Linked DNA regions of Homo sapiens: all the other regions are linked to region 3. Evidence: promoter capture Hi-C in 16 types of primary human blood cells and fetal thymus (Javierre and others, 2016). All regions are on one chromosome and are shown on one strand. The core of a region is centred on a gene start or on the middle of the fragment in contact, and the rest is flanking DNA. Distances in the headings are between cores, read along the strand shown.

The links. The method cuts DNA at HindIII sites, captures the fragments that hold promoters and counts their contacts. A CHiCAGO score of 5 or more calls a contact.
Region 1: a fragment that was not itself captured here is called in contact with the fragment with the promoter of RGS1 in region 3 in 6 of 17 cell types (M0 macrophages, neutrophils, megakaryocytes and 3 more); the score reaches 10.9 in M0 macrophages.
Region 2: a contact is called between a fragment that was not itself captured here and the fragment with the promoter of RGS1 in region 3, in 2 of 17 cell types (M0 macrophages and M2 macrophages). The highest score is 7.2, in M0 macrophages.
Region 4: a contact is called between a fragment that was not itself captured here and the fragment with the promoter of RGS1 in region 3, in 5 of 17 cell types (neutrophils, M2 macrophages, fetal thymus and 2 more). The highest score is 11.9, in neutrophils.
Region 5: a contact is called between a fragment that was not itself captured here and the fragment with the promoter of RGS1 in region 3, in 1 of 17 cell types (naive B cells). The highest score is 5.3, in naive B cells.

The regions. Positions count from the first base shown.
Region 1 is chr1:193,035,740-193,041,140 of GRCh38, forward strand. All of the region lies in intron 3 of UCHL5 (ubiquitin C-terminal hydrolase L5), which reads right to left. Among named protein-coding and RNA genes, the nearest start is that of UCHL5, 21 kb to the right of the region's middle. The HindIII fragment of the contact is 4,210 bases long and covers 217-4,426 here.
Region 2 is chr1:192,873,218-192,878,865 of GRCh38, forward strand. It overlaps the pseudogene RN7SKP126. Among named protein-coding and RNA genes, the nearest start is that of RGS2, 67 kb to the left of the region's middle. The HindIII fragment of the contact is 2,766 bases long and covers 1,618-4,383 here.
Region 3 is chr1:192,572,676-192,577,733 of GRCh38, forward strand. RGS1 (regulator of G protein signaling 1) reads left to right here and starts at 3,098. Exons shown (of 5, transcript NM_002922.4): 1 at 3,098-3,254; 2 at 3,610-3,690; 3 at 4,099-4,160. The coding sequence starts at 3,118. The region is part of intron 3 of LOC105371664 (a long non-coding RNA gene); the gene reads right to left. RefSeq lists an enhancer at 2,943-3,022. The HindIII fragment of the contact is 3,705 bases long and covers 2,016-5,058 here.
Region 4 is chr1:193,070,545-193,075,412 of GRCh38, forward strand. The region is part of intron 2 of RO60 (Ro60, Y RNA binding protein); the gene reads left to right. Among named protein-coding and RNA genes, the nearest start is that of RO60, 13 kb to the left of the region's middle. The HindIII fragment of the contact is 2,294 bases long and covers 131-2,424 here.
Region 5 is chr1:192,990,395-192,995,354 of GRCh38, forward strand. It overlaps the pseudogene ZNF101P2. Among named protein-coding and RNA genes, the nearest start is that of RGS2-AS1, 45 kb to the left of the region's middle. The HindIII fragment of the contact is 2,847 bases long and covers 1,944-4,790 here.

The DNA of each region.
Region 1 (5,401 bases), core at 1,072-3,571, 460 kb after region 3:
ATAAAGCCCAAAAGACAAATCTACCCCAAACAGCAATACCAATAGCAACCTGTTGAAACAGACAATATAAGAAATACGTATATTGACAAAACACAAAGTCAAAATATAAGGGGTAAAAAGTTAAAGTGTAGAGTTTTTTTCTTTGCTTCTATTCTTTTCTTTATAATCTAAGTTGTTACCTCTTTATAATAACATGTCATATGTATATGTTTTGTAAGCTTCATGGTAACCGCAATGCAAAAACCTGTAATAGATTCACTAAAAATAAAAAACAACAAATTAAAACATACAACCTGAGAAAATTTCTTAACAACAAAGGAAGACTGTAAGAATGGAAGAGACCAATTACAAAACAACCAGAAAACAAGCAACAAAATGGGAGTAATAAGTCCTCACTTATCAATAATAACACTGAATGTAAATAGGCTCAATTCTTCAATTAAAAGGCATAGAGTCTCTGAGTTCATAAAGATATAAAACCCCATAATATGGTGGGTACAAATAACCCACCGCATCTATAAAGATATATAGACCAAAAGGGAAAGGGTGGAAGAAGATATTCTGTGCAACTGGAAACCAAAAAAAAAAAAAAAAAAAAAAAAAGAACAGGAGTACTATCCTTATATCAGATAAAATAGACTACAAAGCAAAGACTATAAAAACAGACAGAGAAGGTCACTACATAATGATAAAGGGGTCAATCTAGCAAGAGAATATAACAATTATAAATATGTATACGCCTAACACCTGAGTTCCCAAGTGTATAAATATAAAGCAAGTGTTTATAGATCTAAAGCAAATACTACTATCTACTCTCTCTGACAGATCATGCAAACAGAAAACCAACAAAGAAACATCAGAGGTTAACTACAGACTAAACCAAATAAACCTAACTGACATTTACAGAACATTTCACCCAACTGCTGCAAAATACACATTATTTTCACTATTTTCATCAGCATATGGATATCCAGCATACACCGAGGATAGACCATGTTAGTCCACAAAACAAGTTCTCAATAAATCACTGAATAATATGATTTATAGTAAAATAACATACCAAGTTTCTCTTCAGACCACAATGGAATAAAACTAGAAATCAATAATAGAAACCTTGGAAACTACACAAACACATAGAGATTAAACAACATGTTACTAAATGATGAATAGGCCAATAAAGAAAATAAGAAAAAAATTTAAAATGCATTGAAACAAATAAAAATGGAAATACAGCATACCAAAATCTATGAGATATGGCAAAAGCATACTAAGAGGGAAATTCATAGCGAAAATATCAAAAAAGTAGAAAGACTCCAAATAAACCACCTAATTATATACCCCAAGGAACTAGAAAAGCAGGAACAAACCAAACCCAAAATTATTAGAAGGAAAGAAATAATAAAGATCAGAGCAGAAATCAATGAAATCGAGACTTAAAAAAACAATATTAAGATCAAGGAAATGAAAAATCTTCAGGAAAGGTAAACAAAATTGACAAACCTTTACCCAGGCTAAGAAAAAAGAAAGACGATCCAAATAAATAAAATCAGAAACAAAAAAGGACACATAACATCTGAAATCACAGTAATACAAAGAATCATTAGAAACTATTATGAACAGCTATATACAAAAAAATTGGAAAACCTAGAAATGGACAAATTCCTAGATACATACAACCTACCAAGACTGAACCAGGAAGGAATAAAAAAATCTAAAGAATCTAATAACAAGTAATGAGATCAGAGCCATAATTAAAAGTAAAGCAAAGCCCAGGATGTGACAACTTCATTACTAAATTCTACTCAACATTTAAAGAAGAATGAATGCTAATTTTACTCAAACTCTTCAAAAAAATTGAAGAAGAAGGAATGCTTTCCAACCCATTCTACAAAATCAGCATTATTCTGATACCAAAACCAGGCAAGGACACAACAAAAAAACTACAGACCAGTATCACTGATGATAATAGATGCAAAAATCTTCAACCAAATAGTAACAAACCAAATTCAAAAGTAACAAACCAAATTAAATAATACCACATTAAAAAGATTATTTACCTAATGGGTGCAGCACACCAACATGGCACATGTATACATATGTAACAAACCAAACCTGCACGTTGTGCACATGTACCCTAGAACTTAAAGTATTAAAAAAAAAAAAAAAAAAAAGGTCATTTACCTTGATTAAGTAAGAGTCATCCAGGGATGCAAGATGGTTCAATATGTGCTAATCAATAAATGTGATACCAAGAAAAAAACTACCTAATTATTTCAACAGATGCTGAAAAAGCATTTGATAAAATTTAACATGCCTTTATGACAAAAACCCTCAATACACTGGATATGGAAGGTACATACCTCAACACAATAACAGCCACATAAAACAGACTCACAGCTAATATCATACTGAATTTAAAAAAAGTTAAAGTCTTAGGCCGGGCACCGTGGCTCACGCCTGTAATCACAGCACTTTGGGAGGCCGAGGCGGGCAGATTACGAGGTCAGGAGATCAAGACCATCCTGGCTAACACGGTGAAACCCTGTCTCCACTAAAAATACAAAAAATTAGCTGGGCATGGTGGCGGACGCCTGTAGTCCCAGCTACTCGGGAGGCTGAGGCAGGAGAATGGCGTGAACCGGGAGGCGGAGCTTGCAGTGAGCCGAGATCGCGCCACTGCACTCCAGCCTGGGCGACAGAGTGAGACTTCATCTCAAAAAAAAAAAAAAAAACCACAGTCTTTCCTCTAAGATCAGGAACAAGACAAGGATGATCATTTTTACCATTTTATTCAACGTAATATTGCAAGTCCTGCCTAGAGCAACCAGGCAAGAGAAGGAAATAAAAGGCATCCAAACTGGAAAGGAAGAAATAAAATTAGCACTGTTCATAGCTGACATAATCTTAGAAAAACCTAAAGACCACCAAAAAACTCTTGGAACTGATAAACGAGTTCAGTAAAGTTGCAGGATATAACCAAGCACAGTAGCTCACACCTGTAATCTCAGCACTTTGGGAGGCTGAGGCAGGAGGAATGCTTGAGCCCAGGAGTTTAAGACCAGCTGGTCAACATAATGAGACCCTGTCTCTACAGAAAATTCTAAAAATTAGCCACCTGTGCTAGTGCACACTTGTAGTCTTAGCTACTCGGGAGGCTGAGGCAGGAGGATTGCTTGAGCCCAGGAGCACAAGGTTATAGTGAGCTATGATTGTGCTACTTCACTCCAGACAGAGCAAGACCCTGTCTCAAAAACAAAAAAGTTGAAGAATATAAAATCAGCATACAAAAATCAGCTGCTATTATATATGCCAACAGTGAATCTGAAAAAGAAATTAAGAAAAAAATCCTATTTAAAAGAGCTACAAAGAATATAAAGTAGGCCAGGTGCAGTGGCTCAAGCCTGTAATCCCAGTACTTTGGGAGCCCAAGGCGGGCAGATCACTTGAGGCCAACCTGGCCTCAAGTTTGAGACCAACCTGGCCAACATGGCAAAATCCTATCTCTACTAAAAATACAAAAATTAGCCTGGCATGGTGGCACATGCCTGTAATCCCAGCTACTCAGGAGGCTGAGGCACAAGAATAGCTTGAACCTGGGAGGCAAGGTGGAGATGAGCCAAGATCGTGCCACTACATTCCAGCCTGGGTGACCTAGTGAGACTATGTCTCAAAAAAAAAATAATAATCTAAAATACCTAAGAATCAATTTTACCAAAGAAGTGCAAGATCTATACAAGGACAAGTATAAAGCACTGATGAAGAGTTCACCAAAAACTGGATATTCCATCCTCATGAACTGGAAGAATTAATATTGTTAAAATGACAATTCTACTGAAAGCAATGGACAGATTCAATGCACTCCCTATCAAAATACCAACGGCATTCTTCATAGAAACAGAAAAAGCAATCCCAAAATTTATACGGAACACAAAAGACCCGAGATGGCCAAAGCAATCCTGAGCAAAAAGAACTAAACTGGAAGAATCACATTATCTGACTTCAAAATAGACTACAAAGCTATAATAACCAAATCAACAGGATTCTAGCATAAATACAGACACATAGACCAATGGAACAGAATAGAGAATCCAGATATAACTCCATGCATTTACAGATAAATCATTTTCAACAAAGGTGCCAAGAATATACAATAGAGAAAGGGTAGTTCCTCCAATAAATGGTTCTGGGAAAACTGGATAACCATTGCAGAAAAAAGAAACTAGATCCCAGTGTCCCACCGTACACAAAAATCAAATCAAAATGGATTAAAGACTTAAATATAAGACTTGAAATTATGAAGCTACTATAAGAAAACATTGGGGAAAATCTCCAGAACACTGGTCGGGGCAAAAATTTTTTAGTAAGACCTCAAAAAGCACAGACAACAAAAGCAAAAATAAATGAATAGGATTACATCAAACTAAGAAGCTTCTGCATAACAAAGGAACCAATCAACAAAGTAAAGCGACAACCCACAGAATGGGAGAAAATATTTGCAAACTACCCATCTTATAAAGGATTAACGACCAGGATATATAAGAAGCTCAAGCAACTCAACAGGAGAAGATAAAAAAAATCAGATTTAAAAATGGACAGAAGATCTGAATAGACATTTCTCAAAAGACATACAAATGGCCAACAGGTATATAAAAAAATACTCAACATCATTAATCATCAGAGCAATGCAAATCAAAACCGCAATGTTATCATCTCACCCAAGTTAAAATGGCTTTTAACAAAAAGGGAATGACAGATAAGTGGTGAGGATGTGGAGAAAGGGGAACCCTCATAAACACTATTGGTAGAAATGTAAATTAGTATAGCTACTATGGAAAACTGTATGGAGGTTATGCAAAACTAAAAAATGAACTATTGTATAATCCAGCAATCCACTACTGGGTATACAGATCCGAAAGAAGGGAAATAAATATATCAAAGAGATATCTGCACTCCTTGTTTTTATTATGGCACTATTAATAATAGCCAAAATATATAATCAACTTAAGTGTCCATCAATGGATGAATGGATAAAGAAAATGTAGTATATACATACAATGTGAGATTATTCAGCCATAAAAAAGAATGAAATCCTGTTATTTGGAGCAATATGGAAATGGAGGTCATTATGTTAAATGAAATAAGCCAAGCACAGAAAGACAAATATCTCATGTTCTCACTCACATGTGAAAGCTAAAACAGCAAATCTTCAGGATAGAAAGTAGACTGATGGTTGCCAGAGGCTGGGAAGGGTGGGGTGGTGAAGAGGATGAAGGGAGTTTCATTAATAGGTACAAATATACAGTTTAACAGAAGAAAGAAGACCTAGTGTTTGACAAATCAGTAGGGTGCCTATTGTTTACAATAATCTATCATATATTTCAAAATAGCTATAAGAGGATAA
Region 2 (5,648 bases), core at 1,751-4,250, 300 kb after region 3:
CAGTTCTTGGCCTTTTCCTTACAACTTTCTACAGTGAAGTTCAGCTGTAGGCTCACGTGCTTCCTGACTCTATTTGGGTGAAAGGTAGTAAATGGAAGAGAACAGCAGAGTTAAGATGACAAATCAACTTGAATTATAATAGGGCTGTATTTTAAATTGCTTCTTTTTCAAAGAAGAAAAAATTTTGTATCATCTGAATTGAAATAGCAACCAAAAAGCAAGTTGTTGCCTTATATAAAAGAAAACAATTTTAATAACTTTTAAGATTATTTCAATGATTTATATTTTCTATTTCTGAAGAATTTTAACAAATATTTTTATAAAACAAATTTCATGGTTTCTGTCTACTCATCACATCTTCAAATTAAAAGAAAAGTGACAAGAGAAAGAAAAAAGCCTTCTAAACACTTTTTCTATAGTTTTTACATAAATAATAGAAAACAGCATAGAGCAAATTACTTTTAAAATTATACAATAAGTCAGATAAAAATTTTTGTCAATATATAGAGATGTATATGAATTTGAAACAATATTCACCAAAATCATAGTGTAAATCTATCACTAAATTTTTTTTATGTCATTAAATTTTAACCAAGTCAAAAGCTAAAAAAAATGCGCTGCATTTATATATATACTTGTTTTGCTTCATTTTTTTTCAGAATTCAAGATGCAATGCTTGATTTGGTTTATTAGTCACATCAAAAAATAAAATTAAGTAAGTGATCCTGTTTCACACAATTCCTGGCTCTTATACTCAGTAGTTTTGCTATTTTCCTGTTTTCAACTTTTCTTGATGAGTTACATACTGGAAGTAATTATTGCTTCAGATGAAATTGCTTCAGACCATTTCCAAAATGACTTATGTAACATTCCTCACTTCTTTTGATTGAAAAAAAATCATTGTTTTCAAGGGTGTATAAGAAAAATGTAGCAGAAAATCTCTCCACATCAGTTTACCTAGTCTAGCATCCACCCAGGGTTGAAATTCAAATTGTCTTTTGGGTCATTCAGTCTCCACTCTAGCAAACTTATTTTTGAGAAGCCGTAGGAGATTTTAACTCATCTCTTCCTTGCTTGCTTCATTTAAACAAAATTTTTGAGACAGGGAATCTCCGTACCCACTCCTGGCTACTCAGAGCCACCCTGGCTGCAGCTTGTATCTTGTGCATCCCAAATCCATCAAAATGACTCAGTATGTGGTCCTCATAATTGGTGCCACCATCGGATAACTAGTCTTTGCTCAGAAATTAAAGGTTGGTAACGGCTCATTGTAATCAGGCAGCATATTAGAAAGAGCTGTGTGTCTGGAATCAGAAAATAGTTTCATAATCTTGCACCACCACTAGCCAAGTTATCCTGGCAAGTTATTTCAAGCCTTTCTGAACCTCCATTTTAACAGTGTAGCTCAACGTTATTGAGCACCTATCATGAGACACTAATCTAGGTACTTGGGATACAAAAGTAATTGAAAATGCCCTGGTCAATGCGCTTGAGTAGTTTATCAATATTGGATGAAACAGAAAAGTATTACAATATGATTTGTAAAGATATTTTTTGCAGGGAGAGAATGAAAATACAATTGTCTTCCAGAGTTCTTTGTTTCTCTCAAAAATATTAAGCTTTGGTAGCACCTCTCAGAAAAGGCAAGTTCCCCTCTTACTGGAACTTGAAAGTCTTTTGACTTTTTCTCATTAATTCTTCTTAGTCCTAGTTTAAAGATATTGTATGAAGTAGTTAGAAAAAAACATGCACATTAAGCATCCTTTAGGGATTTTGCTGCTGGTTTAGGAAAGATTTGCAAGCCCTATATTAAGTCCCTGCTGTGTTGGGTGTAGGTCAAAAGTTAAGTGGATAAGAATATCTAACCTAAGTATTGAAAGCGAATGAGGAATCATCTGACCCCCTCACTTATTTACAGGTAAGGAAATGGAGGTTGGAGAGGTCAAATGGCTCACCCAAAGCCACACAGCCAGTGAGTGGCTGAGTAGATGCAAAGCTGGATACTGACTTTTCCTCATTCTCTCATTCATTCCTTTAATGAACACTCATAGAGTATCTAATGCATACAAATTGTGCAAAACACTTCAGGGAATTTCTTCATGTATGAGACAGGCTCTCTGCTCTTCTCCTTCAATCTAATGCTGAATGTTAGCAGCTCTTTATGTCAGAGATGAAGAGATAGTTGGAAGATTGTCTATCTGAAGAGATGAGTTGAACAAAATTAAAAAGTCTGGATTAATGTGAAGTACACAAGGTGACATGAGTCCTCAGGGTAATACGATTAACGAGCCATCGCATATTGGTAGAATCTAATGAATATTCACGCTCTAATCAAAATAGTAGCTCGGTTGAGTGAGGATAAGTGACCTGAACTGTGCCTTTGATCTTAATCTTAGGGAAAAAGAAGACAGAAAAGCAGCAGCAGGGAAATAGCTTTCTAAACAAAGGATTAAGGAAAAGGCTTAGAAAATTAGCTGCTGTCAATTGACAAAAAATGGGAAGGAGGCTTATCTTGTGGGTCCTGTATTTCCTTGAGAGGTTATTTGGAGGTTCTAGCAGGGGAGTGCAGTTACTTGTATATCCTTGACCAAAGACCAGTCCTCTCTTGGAAATGGTCCTCCCCTTTGACCAAGCATGCAGCTTCAGAAGGGATGCACATGGAGCAACGAGGAAGGAAGGGGAGACTCACCTAGGTAGCCAGAGCAGCCAAATCAACCCTGACAATCAATGGCATGAAAGATTGTTGCAGCCAGATCGCCCTCACATGCAAGGTCCTCTATTTCCTTTACAGACCTTGACTGTAATGGAATTGTATTAGAATTCCAATTAAAATCAGCTCTCCTTTAGGGAAAAAAAGAGGTAGATGAGAAGAAAAAAATAATAATCTCTGTGAATACTTTATTATGGTGCATATTGAACTATTCCTGGATGTGTTTCAGTAGATTCCACTGTCAAGTACAGCCAGTGGGAGGGTCAGTAACAACTCACTTTTCAACACTAAGCAACTGGATTCCAACCAGAAATCCTAACTGAAAGATGTGTCCGTTGCTCCATGGATCTTTGACTATTAGAATCTCTTTAAGAACTTTCCCTCTGGTTGCAGGAGACAAAGAAGAGATAATCACAGCTATCCATTTCAGTACAAGACTGCTTGAGATGCTGTCATTTTCTTCAAATCCCAGAAACTGTCAATTTGTGAGTTGCTATTTTTCTACCTAAATCTTACTTTGAAACTAGGATTGGTCACTTCACGCTACATACTGCCCAGTTTCTTTATTTTTTAAAAATTTTATCTTTGATTCTTTTGTTTTTATTTTCTTATTGTGTGCCTTCAAGCAGATATAACCAGGACACACTGCCTGATTTCCTTATGATAAATGGTCACAATGAAAAGAACAAAGCACCCTGGCAAGAGTCTTGGTGAATACCAACCAGTGTGTTGGTTGTCCATACACCATGTCAAGTGGCTGCAGAATTCCCACAGTGTGTTCAGAGGGCTTGAAGGCAAGTACTCTGGGTACTGAGACTCTCCCAGGCCCTGGACAATTTTGCTGCTGAAAACTCATAGTGGACCATGAGTTGCAGAGAACTCATGTGGCATTTTCCCAGCCCTTGAAATAGGTTGGTTGCTCTCCAGCTGTGATGTCTCCGAACAGCTCATGGAACTAAACCAGACTTAAAGTCTGTTGTATACCATCTGTCACATGATAAAATAACCTAATGTAGAAGTAAGGGCCATAAGTGTGTTTTATCTTATATGAATTCCTGCTTTTCCAGTCACTGCCAGGCAGGATATTAATATACCTGTCTTCTTTTCTAAGGAAATTTGTACTTGAAGGGAAGAAATATGCACAATTTGGTTTCATATAAATATTCAAAGTTAATCCTTCCATAATGCAAATAGAAAGAGTGTGACAATATTAATCCCATTTCTAAAAAATTACCTTTGATGAATGCCTTTGAACCACTAGGGTTGTTTTGAGTCTCTTTGGGGAGAAAAAAAAAGTATGCCTAGAATAAAGCACATCAGGCTTCTTAGCTGCAACAAAATCATCCACAGTTGTAGGAATCTGTTGAGGTAGTTCAAGCCCAGGAACAGGTTTTCAGAAATGAGATGCAGGGTTTATAGTGTAGCCTATAAATTTCCAGTGCAGTTCTTGAAGATACACCAAATTCAGTGACTATATTTCGGCTCTAAATCATATAGAAACAGGCAGTGGCATGATTTCCACCTTATCTTCATCCAGATCTCCAATGAAAACAAGAATTGCAAGAGTACATATTATTTATTTGTTTTTTCGGGGGGTTGGAAGATCTTTGCTATTTCATTTTTTTATTTAAACTGGAGCTTGGGGAACCTCCTAGGAGTTCAGCTACCAGTCAAGCTTTGGGCTGAAGCAAGCTGAACTGAGCCCTCTTTCCTAATATGTTTAGTTCCTCAGACTAGACACATTCTGTGCACAAACAAACCATGAGAAAAGGGCACTAGTGGTTTACCACAAAGCAGATTGGGCCAATTACCATAATGCAAGTTTACTAGGCAAAGACCACAGAGGTGACTGACTCCTGCTTCTGTATGTGGCCCTTCTCACTACTTTATGACAAGATAACTATAAAGAATTTAGACTATTTTAGGGGCAGTCAGGCTAGTCTCATTGCCTTCTTCACTGTTCTAAACAATTCCAATGTGTGGATGAGACAGGAGCTTTCCTAGTCACCCAGTCTACTACAGGTATTCCTCATAGTAACTTCATTGTTTAATTCAACCTGGATCATGGAGGTAACATAATGCACTGGAGTCAGACAGTCTGAATTCAAATTCTGAACTCAACTCCTTACTCGCTGTGCAACTTTGATCAATATACTTAAAATTCTCAGAGCTTTCTCTTTTTCATCTGCAGTTCAATTCTGTTAAATCCAGTGCATTTTGAATCAGTAAGTACTTATGAGATACACAAACTGTGCTGGACAAAAAGCTACAAAGCTACAGAATCAGTATGGTCCAGGCTTGATGAGTTGGGGAGAGCCGCAGAAGCCATGTCAGGTGGCTCCAGAATTCCCATAGCATATTCAGAGGGCTCAAAAGCAAGCACTCTGGGTACTGGGACTCTTCAGGGCCCAGGACAGTTTTGCTGCTGAAAATCCACAGTGGACCATGAGTTGCAGAGAATTCACATGGCATTTTCCCAGTCCTTGAGAGAGCCCAGTTGCTCTCCAGCTGTGATGTCCCAGAACAGCCCACGGAACTAAACCAGACAGCCCAAGAGGAAACTTGCCAAGAGCTTCTGCCAAGTTTGGAAAAGCTCAGACCTAGACTCTCCTCTAGAAACCACAATGTCTTTCTCTTTTGAGAAGAAGAAATTAGTAAGGGGGCCTAAGGACAAGGGAACTTGGCAAGGAAGCAAAGGGCATCCATAGGAGGATCTCCCCTTTGGATGTACAGAAAATCCTCCTCCCAGGGGAAAAGAGAAGCACATCATACTGACAGGCAAGAGCCCTGGGATTGATTTCTCTGCCACTGGCCACTGTGGGAACCTCAGTCACTGTTTTCTCATTGGTCCAAAAGTAGGGTTAAACCAGATTACTGTTCAGGTTCCCGACATACCCTAAACTATGCTATGCCCAGCTTCCATCAACTCCCAGCAAAT
Region 3 (5,058 bases), core at 1,848-4,347:
GCTATCTTTCCACGTCACTGACTTTTCCAGTATGGATACATTTTTATTTTAAAATAGAATATTATACTCATCATTACCCCTTGTCTCACAATTCTAATATCCACAATAAGATTTTAGCAACATTTTAAAAGTTCAAACAACATCAGGTTTAAGGAAAGCACTCCCTATTAGTATTCCAGTAATTGGAGTAATTGAAACCAAATGTTTCCATTCAAATCAGTTCAGCAAAGATTAAAATTTTCCTTATTTTTCCTATCAATATCAACAGCCATAATCTGAAATGTCTTACTGAACCAATCTCCTAGGTATTTTAAAATATAACACTGGGATTTTTAGGGAAGGAAAAGTATTCTGTATGGTACTATAATGATGGATACATATCATGATACATTTGTCAAACTCATGGAATGTACAGCACCAAGAGTGAACTCTAATGTAAACTATAGATTTTAGATGATAATGCTGTGTCACTGTAGGTTCATCAATTATAACAAATATTTCACACTAACGAGGTATGGTGCTGGAGGTGGAGCTGGAGGCAAGGTGAAAGGTGGGGAGTTGTGGGAACTCTGTACTTTCCACTCAATTTTACTGTAAACCTAAAACTTCCCTAAAAATGAAGTCCATTAATTTTTCTTTAAAAAAAAAGATAACACTAAGACTACATGAAGTATTCCTTTTCCTAGAAACTCAAACCTAGATGTTTTAGCACAGTTTCAAAGAGGGAAAACTGAAACCCAGATCGTGAGACCCACTGTTTCTTCTACTGACGTTTTTGAAATCCTCTACTATTTCAACCAAAGTCATTGATTCAATAAAGTTACAATTTGACAGTTTATCTTTTCTTAGTGAAGTTTACAAAGAGGGGCCAGATAGTGGCACTCTCTTTAAAATTAATAGGGAACTTTCAATGCCCTGCCATGCACTTGTCACACTTGCTGATACAACTTGACCAAATTTGCCTTGTTCTGGAACACACAGACTTTGGGTGGATGAGCAAACAGCCTCTGAGAGAGCAGCTGCTTTATTGCATGACTAAGGTGACCTCATCAGCCAATTGTGATACAGGAATTTTGAAAGGACTCCCTCTTTCAAGAGTTTATATTTCTATTCAAGTGTGGAAGCATGCAGTTGTAAATGCTTGCGCTTCAAAATGTATATTGGGATAGGGGTAGCAAAATGTTGGGAGCATCAGAGCAGTTCCTAAATACACTACAGGCAAAAACTTATTTTGATCTCAGACCAGAGTTTCTTAACATAGTGTCAAAAAAACACATTATTTCAAAAAACTATTTTCCCTATCTAAAGAGGGTTTAGTTCTTTAACAAGTTAGGAGTCCAACATTTCCCAAACTTACTTGGCCCCATAATTTTTGCTGCTGCTCTTGTTCTTTGGAAACTGTCAGTATATTTGGATGATAATACTAGTGGGCTGTTAAAAATAATTTTTAAATCATTTTACTCTAACATAACTTACTCACAATTATTTAGAGGAGTGAGAGGATACTAGATCAACAAACATGAGCAATGTTGAAGATTTTAACAGGAAATTAAGTATGGACTGAACCACAGGAAGTATACAACCAAATGCCTTTATGTCATCTGTCTTTGAGTTTCATCGGTCTCATTAGGGTCACTTCCAAAGTGGCCAGCTCATCTCACCAGTTATCTTTCTTAATGCCTTATGTTATCTTCCCAACATAAAATGATGCTTGTTACATACAATATAATGAGCTCATTATAATGAAATTAATGACTGTGTATAAGTGAATTTTATAATATTGTAAATGTGTTTTCTTCAAATATTCTTTATCCTGACGATAGAACCAGAACAGAAAAATTAATACTCCCCTCCCTTTTATCAGCTTTACCTAATACCATCAGAAGCTTCACTAAGTAAATGCTTTTTTGTCCTTTTAAAGGAAAGTATTGTCCTTCCAGGGGTAAAATCCAAGGAGGCTTAAGTTAAACTGGGTACTCTATAAATAAGCCACACTTGTTATATAAACTTTTGAAAGCTTATATTTTACTAACTTCTCTATCCTTATAAATGATTAGTCATCTAGTTCCTTGAGTTTTGTTTGTGTTTTAAACTTTAATCTCAATTAAAGCTAAAACTGTTATCTCTCCAGAGATACTGCCAAAATGTGAAAGATCATTACCTAAGAAGTACACATTATTGGTCTATCCAAATAGACTTTTATTTTACCTTGAGCAGTTTTTCCTCTGATACTGTGACCTTGGTATCAGTATGTTTACAAATTATGTCATATTTGTATACAATTAAACATTTATTTATTTATGATTGGTTTTAATTAAACTTTATTTTTTCCTAATATGCAAAATATGCAAAAATCAAAGTTTGATATACTAGTTATATTCTTAATAAATATGAAAATAATATTAAAAACCATGCACCCCTTAAAATCATCCTATGTATTGCCAGTCGATGTCTAGCACACACCTTGGAAAATATTAACATGGAAATTTCCTGCCATGGAAATAAGGGATGAGAATTGGAGTGGGAAAATGTGAAGATAGCCTCTTATAACTTTCCCTCCTATCAGATATGTGCAAAATAATTAAACAAAAATTATTTGTTTACTTTGCCCTGCTTCCTGCAGAAAAGAAGAGAACTCTTAAAATATTTTGATCAGATGAATTTTATAGTCAAGGACTATCCAAAGCATGGAGTAAGATACAACTCTATGTGATGAATTTCTATGTGAGTTTCTATATGATAAATTAATACGCCAAATGAAACAGTTTATTGAAACATGCAACTTTTTTAAAATAAACAAACATCCTCCAGAACCAAAGACTGATGCTGTTAATGCTTTAGACATGTGACATATGTGTGTGTACCTCTGTATGTTTAATTTTCTTTCTTTCTAATCAAGTGACCTGTTCTCGTTTGGTTAAGTTTCAACCACAAGACACCACTGTATGCTTTTTTTTTTTCAAGATACACGTCACAGCACACCAAGAAAAGGGGAACTTCCAGTGTCTGTGGTAACATCACTTGATAAACAGACTCCTTTAAACAGCAAGTGCCTGTCTGCATTCTACTATATAAAGCAGCAGAGACGTTGACTAGCGCATATTTGCTAAGAGCACCATGCGCGCAGCAGCCATCTCCACTCCAAAGTTAGACAAAATGCCAGGAATGTTCTTCTCTGCTAACCCAAAGGAATTGAAAGGAACCACTCATTCACTTCTAGACGACAAAATGCAAAAAAGGAGGCCAAAGACTTTGTAAGTTTGTTCAGAGTCTCACTTTGTGAATTTTAACAAGTTATCTTTAATGGCAGAAGGATTGAGAATGAATGGAAGAGAGTGTGAGCATTTAGTTTAGCCAGATCAGAGGAGTTAATTGCCTGTTGTGAGTAATAAGTAATATTCAGCTGCATTAAAAAATAAATCTTGATATGGCATTAAATTGGGTAGGAGTTTTTCTCTACACAGGCTCATAAAAATGGGTTCTATAGCAAAATGTTGTATCAACCATTTTTAGTATTGCCTTATTCCTTAGAGAAATTTATTCTATGTCTTTTTACAAATAAAATGAATTCTGAAGAAATATGAATATTCACTTTTATGTCTTTTGTAGTGGAATGGATATGAAAGCATACCTGAGATCTATGATCCCACATCTGGAATCTGGAATGAAATCTTCCAAGTCCAAGGATGTGTAAGTACACTAATACACTAAACTATCATTATCATTTACAAGAGAAGCCTATGCATTATCTCTATATCCCAGCAAGGGATAAATACTGCGCACAGTAGACTTCATTTCTTTTAAGTAACATGCCAAATAAAATTAGACTATCAGTACCAATGTAAATTGAATACAAATGTGTACACACACATATTGGACTTTATCTATTTGGATTTTTTCAAATTTTATTGGCAGGTTTTTTTTTTCATAACTATAGTAACTCTAAGGGAAGTTTTGCATTTTGTGAATAAATTTTAACATATTTATTAGAACTACAGTTTCAGTTTGTGAAGTTATCAAAGTGTAACAGCCATTCTTATTTCATTTGTGCTTACATTTTAAAAATTGACTAATGTATGTACATTTTGTCCCCTGCAGACTTTCTGCTGCTGAAGTAATGCAATGGTCTCAATCTCTGGAAAAACTTCTTGCCAACCAAAGTAAGTATAACTATTGAATGTTTCTGGGTTCAGCTAAATACTCTAAAAAATTGAATGGCTTCACTAAATATAGTATTCTGGGTAGGATAGTATGCAAAAGGTTGTATTCTAGTTTGTCTGTAGTTACTGATAACTTCAGCATAGTATGCCTCTTAATAATGCTGACTTAGCACTCAATTCTGCCAACTCCTTTTAGACAAATTTGCCAAGACAATTAGGTATTTTCATAGATCATTATGGAGATAAAATTAAACATTGTGCTGGGATTCTGATATGTAAAAATTTTAAAAGTAAGCCAAATATTTTAATATGTACATTGCCATTTTGAAATCTGCCTAAAGAATGTATTTTTCTACACTTGGATGTAACAAGTATGATTCATTCATTCAATTAATTAAATTATCTTTCATACATTCATCATTCATCTCACCCTTATGTAGAGGACATTGTAGAGGTACCAAGGATTCAAAATCAAAGACAGTCTCTTACTGCCTTGAAGGTGGTTGAGATACATAACATAAATAATTGCATTATTATAACATGATAGTTTTTATGACATAAATATGATAGAAGGATTTTTAAGCACATATAGTCTTGTGGAGATTTTCTGATGAGAGAAGGTAAAGAATGAAATCAGCTTGCCATCCCCTTGTCTTGGGCATTACAATTCTACTGAGATTAGGACCTTTTTCAGAGGTGTAGATGAGCAGTGTGGTCTCTATCTCTAAAGAGTGAGATTATTCTTTTCTCCCCACAGACACCCTAAGGAGCTTTACTTGGGAATCACATTGTTCACTCTAGCTCAGCTGACTTTGTTTATAATTCAGCTAAACAAATAAATGGTATAGATATGGACCATAAATGGTGCCATATAAAAGTCTCAGTGAATGCTAGCAAA
Region 4 (4,868 bases), core at 28-2,527, 500 kb after region 3:
CACCGGAAGTGAAACTTGAAAAGACAGCCACTCAGAAGGGTGGGTTCACATTTCAGTTCTGTGGACTTAAGCCAAGTAAGTTAAGCTGAGTTTCTGACCTTCATCTATTAAAAGGAGGGTAAGGAGAATAAGCTTACAATTATTGAGACTAAATGTCCCAGCACCTAACATGTAGTAGAAGTACACTTTGGTTCTCTATTTCTCCCTTCCACACATATTTTTATATACAGAATCTCTTCAGTAATTCCTGACTTATTTTTTAACTATAACTGGGGTTTTTCAAATGAAATGTAAATAATAAATTGCAAATATTTATATGTATAAACATTTTATTTTGATTTTATTAGATTACATGTTTTAAAATAGTTGAATAATACAGAAAAATATGATGCAGTCCTACTCTTCAAAAGAAATAACTGCATATCAGCAGTCCACAACCCTTCTGATACCAGGGACTGGTTTTGTGGAAGACAGTTTTTCCGCAGGCAGTGGGGAGGGCAGGGTGGTTTCAGAATGAAACTGTTCCACCTCAGATCATCAGGCATCAGATTCTCATAAGGAGAGCGCAACCTAGATCCCTCACATGCTCAGATCATAGTAGGATTCGTGCTCTTATGAGACTAATGCCCAGCTACTGATCTGACAGGAAGTGGAGCTCACTTGCCTGCTGCTCACCTCCTGCTGTGCAGCCCAGTTCCTAACAGGCCACGGACTGGTATCCGTGTATAGCCTGGGAGTTGAGGGCCCTTGCTGTATATCAGATGTTGTAATTTACTCCAGATTTTTCCTAAACATATATTACTGTGTTTCACTAAATTTTGTTACATGCCTTCTATGTTTCAGTAAAAAGTATATTATTGCTATTGCTATTGCTGTTTCTTTCAGGTCAGTAGAAATAGTTGCATATATACCATTGTATGACTGTAATTTATTAGCTAGTCTCTTATTGACAAGAGTTGTTTCTGGTTTTTTTATACTGTTACAAAAATACTACAATGAAAACACTTGCATAGAGTACCTACTTTCATAATGGTTAAATCCACAAACAGTATGTGAAAGGGATCAGTGTACCCACATTTGAACACTTAACTGTTGTCATTATTTTTTAATCTCTTTCAGTAGAATCATGAAAGATTCTTTGAATTTACATTTTTGGGCAGAAGCTCATCTTTGCATGTGCTGATTATATATATATATACACCTATATATTGTATAATATAGTATATATAATATATAATGTTAGTATATAGTATAGTATGTAATATATATATACCTATATACATATATATACCTATATATGTATGCATATAATTATATGTATGTATATATAATATATATGTATGTGTGTGTATATATGTATAATTATACAATTACATCATAGCCCTTTTGTCCACTTAGTTACTGTCTTTTTAACTATTGATTGTGATCACTATTCATTCAACAAATATTTATTTATTTATTTGTTGTATTTATTTTGAGATGGAGTTTCACTTTTGTCACCCAGGCTGGAGTGCAATGGCACAATCTAGGCTCACTGTAACCTCCACCTCCCAGATTCAAGCAATTCTCCTGCCTCAGCCTCCCAAGTAGCTGGGATTACAAGCTCCTGCCGCCATGCTCTGCTAATTTTTGTATTTTTAGTAGAGGCAGGGTTTCACCATGTTGGTAATGCTGGTCTCGAACTCCTGACCTCAGGTGATCCGCCTGCCTTGGCCTCCCAAAGTGCTGGGATTATAGGCATGAACCACTGTGCCTGGCCCTCAGCAAATATTTATTGAGCACCTACTATGGATAGAAACTGTTCTAAGAACTTGGGGTTCATATTAGAGGAGTTGATAATGTATTATTTATATACAGTGCATGCATTTTTTCTTCTTTTTTTTCTTTGTCTTTTTTTTTTTTGGTTGGGGGACATTTCTGGCACACTAAAGTTTTGAATTTTAATGTAGTCAAATTTATCCATGTCTTCATAGGTTTATGTTTTGTGTTAGGATTAGAAGGGCCTTTTCCAACCTAAAATATTTATCTGTGGTTTTTTCCTAACATTTTCTTGGTTAAGAAACATTATTTTTTACATTTAAATTTTTTATCCAAATATTTGATCCAACATAAGAAGGACTTAGGCATCCAGCTTTATTTATTGGTTTGTTGAGATGTGTCTTGGAAGTGTGGAGCAAGTACTAGACTAAGAGAAAGACCGCCCATTACTAGTTCTAACTGGACCAATTAGTTTCTGAACTTGTGAAAATAATTATTCTGTGCTTTGTCTTTTTGGTCTATATAATGAGGAATTAGTAGATGTTTCCTAAACTTACTTCCACACATAGGATTCTTTAATTTGAAATTGTTGAGGGCAGAACTCACAGTTGAAACCATGTTAGTAATAGCAATATCACATTGGACAGAGAATCCCTAGCATTTCAAAGCTTAAAAATTTGGAAAAACTCTAAGCTACAGAATTAATAGTATTTTAATGCCTTTAAGTGTAATGTGTATTTATAACAGACAAAACAAGTCAAAATGTGATTCAAGTCATCAGGTATGGTATTTTTATTGTGCACCCACTGCATGGCCAGCGCAATTACAGAACCGGGTAGGATAAAACTGCTTTAAGGAATTTTTATTTTCACTGGAAAAACAAAATAGAAGATATACTCACAGGAAACATTTACTCATTTAAGATGATTTTGCACCAAAATCTGGAAGATAGCAAGAGTCACAATACTTGAGAAGTTCCTGCATGTTAGTGTTAACTTTTGATCAAGTTATTTAGCATTCAAAAATAACATAATAGGCTCAGTTGGCATAGAGATGTGTTTCATGTGGCCTATACAATATTTTTGGGTAAAAATGAATTCTTTGTCATTATCTTTAAAAATCGACATAAAAACCCATATTCTGGCTTCTCTTGAAAGTAAGTTTTTTTTCTTTTGGCAGCACTAAGTCAATACGTGTCTACACCACTTGTCAGGGCACACTCTGTTCAGTCACCACACCCTAACAACTCTCTATTACATCACTGTGTTTGTTTGTTTGTTTGTTTGTTTGAGACAGAGTCTCACTCTGTTGGCCAGGCTGGAGCACAGTGGCACGATCTTGGCCCACTGTAACCTCTGCCTCCTCAGTTCAAGTGATTCTCCTGCCTCAGCCTCCTGAGTAGCTGGTATTACAGGCATGTGCCACCACGCCCAGCTAATTTTTTTTTATTATACTTTAAGTTCTAGGGTACATGTGCACAACGTGCAGGTTTGTTACATATGTATACATGTGCCATGTTGGTGTGCTGCACCCATTAACTCGTCATTTAACGTTACGTATATCTCCTAATGCTATCCCTCCCCCCTCCCCCCACCCCACAACAGGCCCTGGTGTGTGATGTTCCCCTTCCTGTGTCCATGTGTTCTCATTGTTCAATTCCCACCTATGAGTGAGAACATGCAGTGTTTCGTTTTTTGTCCTTGCGATAGTTTGCTGAGAATGATGGTTTCCAGCTTCATCCATGTCCCTACAAAGGACATGAACTCATCCTTTTTATGGCTGCATAGTATTCCATGGTGTATATGTGCCACATTTTCTTAATCCAGTCTATCATTGCTGGACATTTGGGCTGGTTCCAAGTCTTTGCTATTGTGAATAGTGCCGCAATAAACATACGTGTGCATGTGTCTTTATAGCAGCATGATTTATAATCCTTTGGGTATATACCCCGTAATGGGATTGCTTGGTCAAATGGTATTTCTAGTTCTAGATCCCTGAGGAATCGCCACACTGACTTCCACAATGGTTGAACTAGTTTACAGTCCCACCAACAGTGTAAAAGTGTTCCTGTTTCTCCACATCCTCTCCAGCACCTGTTGTTTCCTGACTTTTTAATGATCGTCATTCTAACTGATGTGAGATGGTATCTCATTGTGGTTTTGAATTGCATTTCTCTGATGGCCAGTGATGATGAGCATGTTTTCATATGTCTTTTGGCTGCATAAATGTCTTCTTTTGAGAAGTGTCTGTTCATATCCTTCGCCCACTTTTTGATGGGGTTGTTTTTTTCTTGTAAATTTGTTTGAGTTCTTTGTAGATTCTGGATATTAGCCCCTTGTCAGATGAGTAGATTGCAAAAATTTTCTCCCATTCTGTAGGTTGCCTGTTCACTCTGATGGTAGTTTCTTTTGCTGTGCAGAAGCTCTTTAGTTGAATTAGATACCATTTGTGAATTTTGGCTTTTGTTGCCATTGCTTTTGGTGTTTTAGACATGAAGTCCTTGCCCACGCCTATGTCCTGAATGGTATTGCCTAGGTTTTCTTCTAGGGCTTTTATGGTTTTAGGTGTAACATGTAAGTCTTTAATCCATCTTGAATTAATTTTTGTATAAGGTGTAAGGAAGGGATCCAGTTTCAGCTTTCGAGATGGAGTTTTGCCACGTTGGGCACACTGTTCTCAAACCCCTGACCTCAGGTGATCCACACTCCTTGGCCTCCCAAAGTGCTAGCATTACAGGCATGAGCCATGGTGCCTGGCCTCACCGTGGTGGTTTTATTTATTTTATTTGCTTGTCCCTCATAGACATTTTAATGTTGTAATCCAATCCCTGCTGTTTTACAGAAGTGGTGAAACTAAGACCTAGAAAGACCACCATTTATTGGCAGAGTATAGGCTAGAACCCAGACTTTCTCACCCCCAATCCAAGGCTCTTTTCTCTTTCTTCTATTGGAAGAAATTGTGGAGGAAATCAACAAGTTACTGTTTCCTTTTTTTTTTTTTTTTGAGCAGTAATACTTCTCAGCTATTAAAACATAGTGTAAAAGAAGCTACCCTGTCCACTTCTACTTATTTCTGCTGTTTTTGTAAATATATATATTTTATTCAACAGC
Region 5 (4,960 bases), core at 2,117-4,616, 420 kb after region 3:
CTCTACACACAACCCCCAGGTTTTGTCTATTTAACTCCCACTTGTCTTTCAGATCTCAACTCAAACTGTCCCCAAATAGGTCAGGTTCTCTTGTTGACAAGATCACAAAACCCTATTTTCATATACTTACACTGGCTTGTAATTATATGTTTGTGACTGTGACTCATGTATCTCAATCTCACCCAGTTTACTGAATGGTAAGCTCCGTGAAGACAAAAAACACGTCTGTTGTTTTTACCATTATATGTCCAGAAACTCACTAACCACCCGACACTTAGTATTGGGTAATAAATATTACTTGGTAATAAATATTTATTAAATGACCTGATCCACAGGACATTGTCCTCATCACTACAACCAGATAAATATCCTTATTCTTTTTTTTTTTTTTTCGTCAGTAGAGGTTTTACTACTTGACTCAAGTAAGGAGGCCATGGGGAGTATTCTCCAAAGCAGTGTCTCTCTGAGGCAAAGTGACAGGAGGGTTTTCTGAGGCCATGGAGAGGGGAGAGGGTGCGTCACCACATGTAGAGGAGGGAGTTTCAGTGGCACACATGCACTGAGCCGTTCTGCCAGTATAAGGTCTCATGAGATGGTCATGAGCTATAGCTCCTCCCTGAGTGGAGATTTTAGCATCGTCATGTCAGGGGCCTTTGAACAAGCACAACTCCCATCTTGAAGGGGGGCTGGGTAAAATGAGGCTGAGACCCACTGGGCTGAATTTCCAGGAGGTTAGGTATTTTAAGTCATAGGAGGTCCGCACAGATACAAGTCATAGAGACCTTGCTGATAAAACAGGTTGTGGTTAAAGAAGGCGGCCGAATCCCACCAAAACCAAGATGGTTTTGACAAGTGACATCTGGTTGATGCGAGTAACATCTGGTTGTCCTCACTGCTGATTATACACTAATTATAATACATTAGCATGCTAAAGGACACTCCCAGGACCACCATGACACTTTACAGATGCCATGGCAATGTCAGGAAGTTACCCTATATGGTCTAAAAAGGAGAGGAACCCTCAGTTCTGGGAATTCCTCCCCCTTCCTTGGAAAACTCATGAGTAATCCTCCCCTTGTTTACCATATAATCAAGAAATAACTATAAGTATCCAGGCTGGACATGGTGGCTCACACCTGTAATCCTAGAACTTTGGGAGGTCAAGGCAGGTGAATCACTTGAGGCCAGGATTTCAAGACCAGCTTAGGCAACATGGCGAAACCCCATCTCTACTAAAAATACAAAAATGTAGCTGGGCATGGTGGCACACTTGTAGTCCTACTTGGGAGGCTGAGGCAGGAGGATTGCTTGAACCCGGGAGGTGAAGGTTGCAGTGAGCTGAGATCGTGCCACTGCACTCCAGTCTAGGTGACAGAGTGAGACTTTATCTCAAAAAAAAAAAAAAAAAAAAACAAGGCCAGTGCCGTGGCTCATGCCTGTAATCCCAGCACTTTGAGAGGCTGAGGCAGGTGGATCACTTGAGGTCAGGCATTCGAGACCAGCCTAGCCAACATGGTGAAACCCTGTTTCTACTAAAAATACAAAAAATTAGCCAGGTGTGGTGGTGCATGCCTGTAATCTCAGCTACTCGGGAGGCTGAGGCTAGAGAATTGCTTGAACCTGGGAGGCAGAGGTAGTAGTGAGCCAAGATCATGCCACTGCACTCCAGCCTGGGTGACAGAGTGAGACTCCGTCTCAAACAAACAAACAAAGAGCTGGTTTAAAGAAAGAAGGTCACCGCATTCCACCCGGGATTTGGGGAAGAAGAGGCTGCCTAGCAGTAGGCTGTAAACTAGGCTGATTGCTCAAGTTGATTGGATTCCTGTAATCCCGGGAGACTCTACCTGTCTGCCTACAGAGATTTGAACTCGCTTAGATAAGCAGCTGGCTGCACCCACAGTTCACAAGGAAAACTCACATTCAGAAGGCAAAACACATTCCCAAGCTTGGGCTGAAATGGAGCCCCAGAGCAGATCCAGCCCCATTGCCAAGGCAGGGACGTGTAAGAATTTAACTCTGGGAAGTTAACATGCCCACCTCTCCCTCACAGTGTGGAAATACCCCCTCCTTCAAGACTTCAAGACTTTCATTTTCATCTGAAAGGGTCTCTCACCCACAGAGTCAACTTAAGGTTCTGACATATGAACACTGTCAAATTCATAAACCTTTCTCCAGGAGGCAATCCAAACAAGTCTTTGTCTAAGCACAAACTTCACAGACTTTATATATATATATTTTTTTAGAAACGGGGTCCTGCTCTGTCACCCAGGCTGGAGTGCAGTGGCAGGATCATAGTTCACTATAGTCTTGAATTCCTAGGCCCAAGCGATCCCCTGGCCCCAGCTTCCTGAGCAGCTGGGACCACAGGCACCCACCACCACACCACACCTGGCTAATTTGTTTGCATTCCTTCAGAGACAAGGGGTCTTGCCATGTTGCCCAGGCTGGGCTCAAACTCCCGGGCTCAAGTGATCCTCCCACCTCAGCTTCCCAAAGTGCTGGGATTACAGGTGTGAGCCACCACACCCAAGCCACAGATTTTCTTAAGGGATATGAAGACTGTTCTTCACGGTGCTGCATGTTATATATTCTGTAAAAAGACATGTAAAACACGTATCTAGTCCGGGCATGATGGCTCATGCCTGCAATCCCAGCATCTCTGGAAGCAGAGGCGCGCAGACCACATGAGGCCAGGAGTCTGAGACCAGCCCAACCAACATGGTGAAACCCCATCTCTACTAAAAATACAAAAATTAGCTGGGCATGGTGGTGCACACCTGTAATCTCAGCCACTTGGGAGGCCGAGGAAGGAGAATCACCTGAACTCAGGAGGCAGAAGTTTCAGTGAGCCAAGTTCATGCCACTGCACTCCAGCCTGGGGGACAAAGCGAGATTCCATCTCAAAAATAATAATAATAATAAATAGAGTAATTGTTAAAATTGAAAACGTTCCTGTATTTTCCAGACTACTAACATTTCCATCCAGTGTGCATTCTTCAATTTACATCGTCCATCTCCACAATACCCAGCCTTCTTATGTTGCCCAGGCTGGTCTCAAACTCCTGGGCTCAGGTGATCCCCCTGCCTCAGCCTCCAAAAGCACTGTCTGCGCCTGGCTAAATGAGTTTTTTTCATGTTGTCAAAGGCAATTTAAAAAAGTAAAGACTTTACCACATTGTTTAGAGTCAAAGGGTTTTTCTCTAGTGTGAGTCATTTCATGTCTCCTCAGGGAACTGCCACATCCGAAGGCCATACCACACCTTTTACAGTCATATGGCTTTTCTCAACTATGAGTTTTTTCATGTCTTCGAAAACAACTGGGATAATTGAAGGTTTTACCACGTTTATTACATTCATAAGGTCTCTCTCCAGCATGAGCTCTTTCATGTGCTTGAAGGGACATGGGACATCTAAGACTTGGTCACATTTTTGACGTTCATAGAGTTTTCCTCCACTATGGGTCCTTTCATGTCTGCGAAGGGAACTGGAACGACTGAGTTTCTTCCCACATTCCTGACATTGGTGGGATTTCTCCAGCGTGAGTTCTGATTTCATGTGTCTGAACGTAAGTTGTACCACATTCTTTACATTTGTGAGGTTTTTCTCCAGGATGACATGAATTTGAAATAAAGTGGGATAATCAAAAGGTTCTCCACAGTATTTACATTCATAGCGGTTTTCTCCAGTGTGCATTTTTCCATGTTTTCGAAAGTAACTGGAAATAGTAAAGGCTCTCATGATTTTCCTACATTTATAGGCCGTCTCTCCAGTGCGAGTTCTTTCATGAATTTGAAATAAATTGGGAGAATTAAGGGCTTTCCCGCACACCCTGCATTCATAAGGTTTCTTTTGAGTTGGTGTTACTGTGCGCCTTGGACCACTATTGGGGGAAATGGAGGCTTTCCCACATTGTTTCTGTTTACAGGGCTTCTCTCCCCATTCCCCATCACACTGGTAGCGTTTCTGTCTGGCGTGAGCTCTCATGTCCCTGTCCAGGAATGAATGACAGAGGAAGACTTTCCCACACACGCTGCATTTGCATGGTTTTACCCCAGTATGACTTTTCTTCTTCAGGTGACAATCAGGAATCTGGCTGAAGGGTTCACCATGTTGACTCCCTTCTTTATGTCCACAGAATCTCTCACCCAGACTTTGACAGAGGCCAGGTTCCTGAGGGTTTCCAGCATCACATCTCTGTAGAGATTCTTCTGGGAAGGACTCAGCAAAGCCCACTCCTCCTGGGTGAAGTTCATAGCCACATCTTCAAAGGCCACTGAGTCCATTTCCGGCTTCTGGGTGTCCTGGGTCCTCCCTGGGGCTGGAGCAGCCGGAGCAGGTTCCACGTGACAGAAGCTGTGGTATCTGGACACCAGGGGCCTCCCCAAGGAACTGAAACCCGGACCCGAGTGGGGCCCATGCCTAAATATCCTTATTCTTATGCCATCAATATCACTGCTCCTCCTTCTTATTGATAGGAAAATTGGATGGTAGAAAAGCATTAGAAATAAGATTTCAGCTTTCCTTAGACTCCAACATTTCTTAATATCAGAAACTATTACAAATGAATAACAAAAATATTAACATACCAAAAGAAAAATAAGTATATCACAGGTACTTCATTAAAAAAGAAATATAAGTGGCCACTAAACACACAAAAGATTAACTCCACTAGTAATCAAGGAACATAAAAACACAAAGAACACTACTACTGTAGAGATAACAACTACAAGTTATTTTTCTATTTTTCTTGAAATTCGTATTTCTGAAAAATAATTGTTAACCAGTAGTAAAGCTTGAAAATTTTTACACTGTAGAAATGAACAGAGAAGAAATTTCAGTGTCTAGTAATGCTGGCCCAGTAGCCGACTAAATCTCCTGCTTAAAACAACTTTTTAAAAATAAGATGAAATAAAGAACAAGGTACAAATAAGATAGTATGGAATTACCAGGCCACAGAGAA